2 separate regions of the Homo sapiens genome follow, and region 1 is linked to region 2. Evidence: promoter capture Hi-C in 16 types of primary human blood cells and fetal thymus (Javierre and others, 2016). All regions are on one chromosome and are shown on one strand. Each heading gives the region's core, a stretch centred on a gene start or on the middle of the fragment in contact. The rest is flanking DNA. Distances are from core to core; before and after follow the strand shown. Region 1 overlaps ZNF354A (zinc finger protein 354A). Region 2 holds the start of ZFP2 (ZFP2 zinc finger protein).

The links. Contacts are between HindIII fragments. The CHiCAGO score rates a contact against its expected background, and 5 or more counts as called.
Region 1: a fragment that was not itself captured here is called in contact with the fragment with the promoter of ZFP2 in region 2 in 1 of 17 cell types (activated CD4 T cells); the score reaches 5.8 in activated CD4 T cells.

Annotation. Positions count from the first base shown.
Region 1 is chr5:178,717,219-178,721,828 of GRCh38, reverse strand. All of the region lies in intron 4 of ZNF354A (zinc finger protein 354A), which reads left to right. Among named protein-coding and RNA genes, the nearest start is that of ZNF354A, 11 kb to the left of the region's middle. The HindIII fragment of the contact is 527 bases long and covers 1,151-1,677 here.
Region 2 is chr5:178,892,835-178,897,506 of GRCh38, reverse strand. It overlaps ZFP2 (ZFP2 zinc finger protein), which reads right to left and starts at 1,594. Exons shown (of 5, transcript NM_030613.4): 1 at 1,533-1,594. RefSeq lists silencers at 1,352-1,401, 1,472-1,581 and an enhancer at 1,692-1,881. The HindIII fragment of the contact is 12,652 bases long and covers 1-4,672 here.

The sequences.
Region 1 (4,610 bases), core at 165-2,664, 180 kb after region 2:
TGTGTTGACTTTGAGGCATCTGAACTGCTCTTTTGAGTAGGTCGTCTGTAAGGGGGAGTCGAGTATGGGAGATATCTTGCTTAGAGGATGAGTCTATGATTGAAGTTGCCTGTGGAAAGATGCAGAGTGAGAAGAACTGGGGGCCTAGAACTAAAGCTAAGGCACTCCAAGGATGATAAACTGTGGTACGTCCACACAGCTGTAAAGTGGAATGAGGAGGACCTCTGTAACTTCTACTATGGAGTGATCTCCAGAATGTGAGAATAAGTGCAGAACAGCACAGTTAGTACTGTTATCTAAGAAAGGTGGGTGGGAATACCAAGAAAAGTGTGTGTGTATTTACTTACACTGTCATGGAGCACATAATGTTTCAGTCAATGATAGCCTACATATATGATGATGCTCCCATAGATGATAATACTGCATTTTTCCTGTCCCTTTTCTATGTTTTAATATGTTGAGATGCACAAATACTTACAATTGTGTTACAGTAGCCTACAGTATTCAGCTAAGTAACATGCTGTATAGGGGTATAGCCTAGGTGTGTAGTAGCCTATACCATCTAGATTTGTGTAACACACTCTGATGACTGCACAACATCGCCAACAACGCGTATCTCAGAACATATCCCAGTCATTAAGCAGTGCAATTATTTTTTTTAGAAAGATAAAAGCAAAAGAAAAAAAAGGAGATCAATAAAAATGGTTATCTCTAAGGTGAAGGAAGAAAAAGGATGGAACAGGGGTAGAATCTATGACTTTTTGAGGTCTCAAAATTTTGACTTCAGAACTATAAAAATGGTTTATAAAATTATAAGACAAAATTAAACAAAAATGAGAAAGTACCCCCTACATATTGAAAGCAGAATGAAACAACCCTAATTGTGTTCCAGGTTGGTGGCTTAGCCACAAAAAGAATTATTTGAATTGCCTTTACATTGCAGCAGTTTGACTTATTAGTGTAGGTATTCTAGGGGCAAAAGTAACTGCAAGCAGTGGTGTTAATTTTGATGGATGTGCTAAGAGCGGTTTTGATGTTTTTACAGATGAAATGATTTTGCTGTCTGGGATGTGCTCTAGCATAACCTAGTGGACGAGATGAAAGGGTTTGTGTTAGTTTGCTAGGGCTCCATACTGAAGTACCACAAGCTTCGTGGCTTAAAACAGTAGAGATTTACTGTCTCACAGTTCTGAAGGTCAAAATCAAGATATTCGCAGGGCCCCGCTCCCTCTGAGACTCTGCATAGAATTCTTCCTTGCCTTTTGCTAGCTTGTAGCGATGGCCAACTTGGAGATCTCCGTGGCCTGCAGCTGCATCAGTCCTATCTGTGCCTCCGTCTTCACACTGTGTTCGCCCGGTGTCTTCACATCATCTTTCCTTCTGGATGCCTGTGTCCAAATTTCCCCAGTTTACGGGGACAGCAGTCACGCTGGATTAGGGCTCACCCCAATGACTTCATCTTAATTTGATTGAACGTGCAAAGACCATATTTTAAAGTAAGGTCACGTTCTGAGGTCCTGGAAGTTAGGACTTCTACGTCTCTCTTTTGAATGATGCGGTTCAGCCCATAACAAGGTTGTCAATAGAATAGTGTTGCTGGTTATTGAAACTGGCTGGAGATTCACTGTACAATTCACACTACTTTTACATATGCTGAAAATTTCTATGTTAAAAGCTTTAAAAATAAGAGTTACCACAACAACATTTCTAAAACAGCTTTTCTCTTTTCCACCAGCACAAAGATGATAGAGGATGTTTACAAATAGGCAGTACTACCCCCATCATGGTTTATGTGCAGTTCCCAGCAGATTGCTCCTTGAGTTCTCTGACTCTAGAAAACCTTGTGAGACTGCAAATGCAAGTGACATTTTTTTTTTTTTTTGAGACGGAGTCTCGCTCTGTCGCCCAGGCTGGAGTGCGGTGGCGGGATCTCGGCTCACTGCAAGCTCCGCCTCCCGGGTTCACGCCATTCTCCTGCCTCAGCCTCCCAAGTAGCTGGGACTACAGGCGCCCGCCACTACGCCCGGCTAATTTTTTGTATTTTTAGTAGAGACGGGGTTTCACCGTTTTAGCCGGGATGGTCTCGATCTCCTGACCTCGTGATCCGCCCGCCTCGGCCTCCCAAAGTGCTGGGATTACAGGCGTGAGCCACCGCGCCCGGCCGCAAGTGACATTTTTATAGGTGGAGCTTTTACTCTGACTAGCTATAGGATAAGGTGGGGGTGGATACTTCAGCAAATAAGTCTGGAAAACTGACTTGCATTCAAAGACTTGGGTGCTGCCTTCAGCCCTTGTGCTACCCCTTCATCTAGCCTATGGCGATTCCTTTCACATCCTATCTTATATGTCAATTCTTACGAAACACTCCAGCAGCGTCCTGCTGCACCCCTTTTCTACCTGCACCCTCACTATCTAAGGACAGTTGGATATGATTCTAAGCTCGTGTTCACGTCCATTTCTAGCTTATGTTTCTATTGTAGAAATTGTCACATTGTATTGTGATTACCTACTGATGTCTTCATTTCTAATGTCTGACTATAAACTCTCTGAAGAAATCAACTGTTCCTTTTAATTACTGGATCCGTAGGGAACTGTGGATCACCGATGCCTAGGATAGAGCCTAATACATAGTAGGTACTTTTTAAATATTTGATAAATTAATAAAGTAAGGCGTGACCAATGCTTTTTGAAATAACATGACCAATTCTGTGTATTAAGAGGGGTAAATCCAGTGGGAAATAATACTGGAAAGGCAAGAAACAGGTCAAAGGAATAACTTAAGATCAGGAGCAAGTCACTCTACAGTGAGGAGATCCTGAACTTAGACATATTCACGATGGCTTATTAGAGACATTTTAGTGATGAGATTTAAGAGAATGTGCAGCCTGGGCAACACAATGAAACCCTGTCACTACGCAAGATAAAAATATTAGCCAAGCTTGGCAGTGTGCACCCGTAGTTCCTGCTGCTCAGGAGGCTGAGGTGGGAGAATCGCTTGAGCCCTGGAGTTTGAGGCTGCAGTGAGCTATGATGGCACCAGTGCATTTCAGCCTGGGCAACAGAGCAAGACCCTGTCTCTCAAAAAACAAAAAAATGAAGATTTTGATGACTGCCTAGGGAAGAGAAATTCTAAGATAAAACTAAGAATTTACGGTAAATTAACTGAAGAGATGATGGTGTCATTTTGAACTGGAAAACATATAAAAAAGGTTTGAAAAGGAATGCTCTGGGTTCAGATTTGGACAGGCTGAATTTAAAAAGAAAGATACACAAGTGGAAATTCTAACCGGCAGTTGGAAAGACCTCTGTAAAGTATTTTTCAGGATAGTCGTACACATAAGAGGTGTGGGAGTAAATGAAATCATCCAGGGAGATAGGGTTGAAGAAACACTCTCTGGGTGTAGTGAGAGTCCAGGTGGAAGAGTCTAGACCTGATAACAGGAAGTGGTCAGGGCAGTGGCCATCAGCAAGATGATTCTGGCTTCTCAACTTCTGACCTAGGTCTTCACCTTGTTTAACAGGTAGCTGAGGACTGGGCTTGATTCTAGGAGGAAGCAAAGGTTGAACTGCACCTCAGGAGACCTATTTGTAGGCCTCTAGAAAGTTCTAAACAGATCATAAGGAAGAGTCAGGATATCCACAATCCAAAACTTACGTCTGCTTCTGTGAAAAACATGATTTCAGGACTAAAATATTGGCACTTTAGAGTTGGGATGAGTTTTCCAGAATTGATAATGGACTTCCGAGTCGTAATCATATCCATTAAAAAATAAAAGCTCCCCATGTCACATTTGCTTACTCTCCTTTAGAAACTGTTGAAAAGGGTTTCTGCTCTTGATGTTTCTATTTTCTCACCTCCCATTGTTTCCTCCATGCACTCCAGCTGGGCTTTCTTCCTTATAATTCCACTGATAGCTCTGTTATTAAATCCCAAACAACCTCCGTCTTGCCACAATCAGGATTAAGTTTTTAGTCCTCAAATTATTTGCCACAGTTATTCACTCCTCCCTGAAGTACTTCTTCCCTTGGCTTCTGGAACACTGTACTCTCCTGATATTATTCTTCTTAACCTCGTAATATTTCAGTGTCTAAGTGATTCCTTTCAGTTCTTCAGCTTTAAATCAAACCCACATGCTGCTGACCCCCAAATGCCTGTCTATAGCTCTGACCTCCCCCAGATCTCCAGAATAATAAATACAATCTAGTATTTCAGTATCTTCCTGCAACTCTATTAAGGCATCTCAGCCATCACAAACATACCAGAAACAGAATGCCCCCTCAGCCTTGCCCCTTTCCTGGTCTTCCCCTTCTAGCCTTGCCCCTTTCCTGGTCTTTCCCTTCTTGGTGGTTGGTGGCAGCTCTCAGAATTCTGGCTAGAAACCTAGGCATGATCCCTAACTTTCCTGTTTCCCTCTCAGCTTCCTGGGAGTCCTGAGTCTTGTTATTCTTGGTCCCGCTAGCTCTTCCTTCACTGTACAGCCTGGCATAGTCATCTGTACCTCCAGCCCTTTCTCACGTGAAGAGCTGCAGTAGCTTCTTCAGTAGCCTCTCCCCTCCCTGCTTCCACTGGTGCCCCAGCGTAGTCGGTCCACGCAGCAGCCAACTCAAAT
Region 2 (4,672 bases), core at 345-2,844:
ATTTTTGTAATCTCGTGGGACAGACAGCTTCTCTGCCAGTGATGTCAAACACCCAAACGTGAAGAAAAGGTTTTCATGTGTGACCATAAGAACCTGTGACGTTTCTGCACAGTCAGGAAACATGCTTATGTATCAGATACAAAATTAAAATACAAAATGCAAACTGCGTGAAAATATTCATTAGTGTTCAAAATGCAAATGTAAACAATCCTATCTTTTGCACCTCTCAGAAGTTCAAGAGAATACTAACATTCACAGTTGGTGTGGGTAAATCTGGCACTCTTACACTGCAAGTGTTTATATAAACTGCAACTTTTCTGGAGGGAATAAGACAGGAGGTATCAAAATCCTTACTGTACCCTGGACCTAGAAATTTCACTTTAAGAGATTTATAGAATAAGACAAAATGCAAAGATGTATGTAGCCAGATGGCCTATACTGTTTATAATACTGAAAAAAAAAAAGAAAAAAGAAAACCCTAACACAAAAACCTAAGGAGAGGATTCAATACGACACATCCATACTTTCCCTCACACTCATTAAAATGACGTAGCTCTATTTAAAATCTGGTATAAGTAGATGGTGTCAACATATTCCAATGTTTTTTTCAGATGTATTCTCTATCTTCATTGGGTGTTTAGGCCAGTAAAAAATTACAAGGCTTAAGATTTGTGCACTTCAAACCCCTTACCAAATGCATCTCATGACTCAGTTTTAAAAGATAGATGGAGAAAAAGCTGCTAATATTCATATTTCTGTTTAAAAACAAAGTACAAAGTGTTTCTATGCTTATACACATATCCACGCTGCCATGCAGATGGAGATAGATTTTGAATGATTGTTTTAATCTCAATTTTCCAGTTGTGCTACAGTGAAATCGCTTAAGGAAAAAAAGAAAAGATTCCCCGAGGTCGAAACCTGCACCAGGTTGGCCTCCCCATTCTTATTGTGAGATGGGAGGGGAGCCCACGCCAGCGCTCTCGGAATGAGATCCAGAGGGCGGGTCCGGAGACCCGGTTTACACAAAGGGCAGATGCTGCACAGGGAGACCCAGCCTCTGGCCCAGAATCCCCGGGATGTCCGCGGGTTAGGTTCGCTCCACGGTCGCAGCGTGTCCCGGGACAAAGCTGCGCGCGGCTGGGGAAAGCCAGGGAGGAACCCGGGTCCGAGCGACTCTTGGAACCTTGGGCCCCTCCCTGACCCGTGGTGGCCGGCGTGGCCCTTGTTCGAGCCCCCATCCCCGCTGCTCCGGGGCTGTGATTCCACCTCGGCGCCTGCCCAGGACAGCGCCGAAGGACACTCAGCTGCCAGCGTGCTCCCGCCGCCAGCTCCTGGGGAAGAGGGAGCGCACCTGGAGCCGGAGGCCCGGCGCTCCACAGGCGCAGTGAGGCCGCACCCCCGGCCCATCTGCTGCGGGCCCGCCCCTCAACCCTCAGGAAGCTGGGGCCTCGCCCCGCAATCCGGAGCTCCTCCTGCGGGGGCCTACAAGACTCACGGATGGCGCGCGCCCCCGCCACCGGCCCCGCACTCACCCTCTCCCAGCAGGAGCGGGAGCAGCGGCGACCGACACAGCCGCGACCGGCGCTTACAGCCCGGAGCGCCAGACTACATTTCCCACAAGGCTGCGGGGCTGCAGTGCGGCCAGGCCGTCGGCGTGTGCGAGAACGGGGCCCCAGAGGGCAAGGCTGTGCCAGTGGCCAGCTGAGGTGGCCCACGGTGTGGCCTCTGCAGGTCATCGGTGTGTCCAGGCGGGACGCGGGGTTCCCAGGCGGCCCCTTACCCCGGCTAAAGTCGTCTCTCTGGCCAGGCCTGCAATCTCAGCACTTTGGGAGGCGGGTGGGTGAATCACCTGAGGTCAGGAATTCAAGACCAGCCTGGCTAACATGGTGAAACCCTGTCTCTACTAAAAATACAAAAAAAATTAGCCAGGCGTGGTGGCGGGCACCTGTAGTCCCAGCTACTCGGGAGGCTGAGACAAGAAAATCACTTGAACCTGAGAGGCAGAGGTTGCAGTGAGCCGATATTGCGCCACCTCACTCCAGCCTGGGTGACAAGAGCAAGAGAGTGTCTTAAAAAAAAAAAAAAGGCATTAATTTACCAGCAAATAAAATATTTTAAACTTTTATGTATTTAATAACATAAGATACAAAATACATAAAGCAAACATGGGCAGAACCCATTTTTAATTTTGTTTTCTTTCTTTTTTGTACAGATGGGATCTTACTCTGTTGCCCAAGCTGGTCTCAAACTTCTGGGCTCAAGCAACGCTCCTGCCTTGGCCTCCCAAAATGCTGGGATTATAGGCGTCAGCCACCACCCTGGCCTCAGAGTTTTTAACCTACCTTCTCAGTAACTAATAGAAAAGCTGACAAAAAGGTCACTATAGATATGAAATATTTGAAAAGCAAAATTAGTTTTATGTTAATGAATAGACATGTAGACTACTCCACCCCAAAACTGAAGAAAACACATGGAAAAGCATATATTTACTTAAGAAATGATCTCATACTAGTCTGTAAAGTAGCCTCAACACATTTCAAGCAATTGGTATCACACAAGACCATATTCTTTGACAATGTAATTAAGCTAAACATTTTTTAAAAGACTAGAAACTTTTTAGAAAAGATTTAGGTAAAGGGAATATTTAGAGGAAATTTTGCAGCCTTCAAAGCATACAGTAAAGAAGAAAAGAAGGCAGATTGGGTACAACACATCTAATTTTGTTCCCTCCTAACACGTACTGATATAGTTCAGGACACACACACTCACTGCCAAAATATGGCACCTCATCATTTGAGAAAACAGCAGAAACAGGAAGGACTTTTCCACACATCTCCCACGAAGCAGGTTGTAAAACCTAGGAAGAATTTCCTAACGTCCCCTGAAGCAGGTCGTAAGATTCTCATGTGAGATTTGCACTCCCTATACCTGGAGGAAAGTAACATCTTTATTGCTGAAGACACACAGTCACAGAGAAAACTCTTGAACAAACAGGCCTTGCTAAGTTGCCCCCAGTGTATTACTATTAGATCATATCCTCTTTGTCCATTTATATTTCTCTGTGACTTCATCAAATTTAGCATAAAAATACACAACTTTAACTGTTTCTTTGGGACTTCATTTCCTTATGTAGGCTGCTGTGTCATGTAAAACTTGTATTAAAGAAACTTGTATGTTTTGCTCTTGTTAATTTGTCTTTTGTCTTAGGGGTCTCAGCCACCAACATAGGACGCGCAAGAAAAATGTATTTTGCCTCCTCTGTACCACTAAAAGCAAATGTAACAGATTGTTTGAAAACTTGTTAATTCACAAGGTCAGGAAAAACAAGTAAGGACACACCAGCAACATTTTAAATCTTGGAAACGGATGTTATTTTCTTGGCAAACCTGAAATAATGCCAAATCCCAGAGAGCTGTAAGAAAGGTAAAGGCCAGGCTGGGTACAGTGGCTCATGCCTGTAATCCCAGCACCCTGGGAGGCCGAAGTCAGGGGATCACTCAAGACCGCAAGTTCCAGGACAGCCTGGGCAACATGGCGAGATGCTGTCTTTACAAAAAATAAAGGTAGGAAGGAATGGAGTCTCTCTACTGTTTTGTGCAAATGTAGTCGGGTTTATGATCAGAACTGCTGTTATGTACAATGCTGCTAACCTCCAAGCCTTGGAGGGAAAAGGTTAAGGATGAACTTTCTGTTCTTGGGCACACAACCAAAAGGCCTGGACAATGAGAAACTTTTTCTGGACTGGTTCCACTAATGCTTTTGTCCGTGAAATCACGAAGTACCTTGCCAGTAAGGGACTGCCCTTGAATGTTCTTTTGATATTGGACAATGACCCTGGTCACCCAGAACCCATGAGTTCAATGTCAAAGGCACTGAAGTGGTCTACTGTATTAATATCAGATAATGTGGACTTTGTAGACAAAGAAAATTGAGACAGGAAAATTACATAATGATAAAAGGGCTAATCTACCAAAAAGTTATAGCAGTCAGTTTTTAATTTTTTAAAATGTTTCGTAGAGACAGGATCTACCTATGTTGCCCAGACTGGTATCGAACTCCTGGCCTCAAGTGATCCTCCCACCTCAGCCTCCAAAAGTGCTGAGATTACAGGCACATGCCACCATGCCCAGCTTTGTTGCTGTTGTTGTTGTTGTTTTTTGAGACAGTCTGTCGCTTTGTTGTCCAGGCTGGATGCAATCTCGGCTCACTGCAACCTCCGCCTCCCAAGTTCAAGCGATTCTACCTCACCTGAGTAGCTGGGATTACAGGCACTAGCCACTGTGCTCGGATAATTTTTGTATTTTTAGTAGAGACAGGGTTTCACCATGTTGGTCAGGCTGGTCTCGAACTCCTGACCTCAAGTGATCCACTTGCCTCAGCCTCCTAAAGTGTTGGGATTACAGGCGTGAGCCACTGCGCCCGGCCTAGCTTTGTTTTTTTCTTTCAAATTCTACAGCAGGCTTAAAAATGGTTTATGTTCAAACATTACAATACTAAGGGATTCTGTATCTATGTATTTTTTACCAGAGTCTTTATATTTTCATAGTTTCATGTTGTTATTACCTTTCAATTTAAAGAATTCCCTTTAGCATCTTTTTGAGACAGGAGTCTGTCACCCAGGCTACAGTGCGGTGGTGTGATCTTAGCTCACTGCAACCTCCACTTCCCAGGT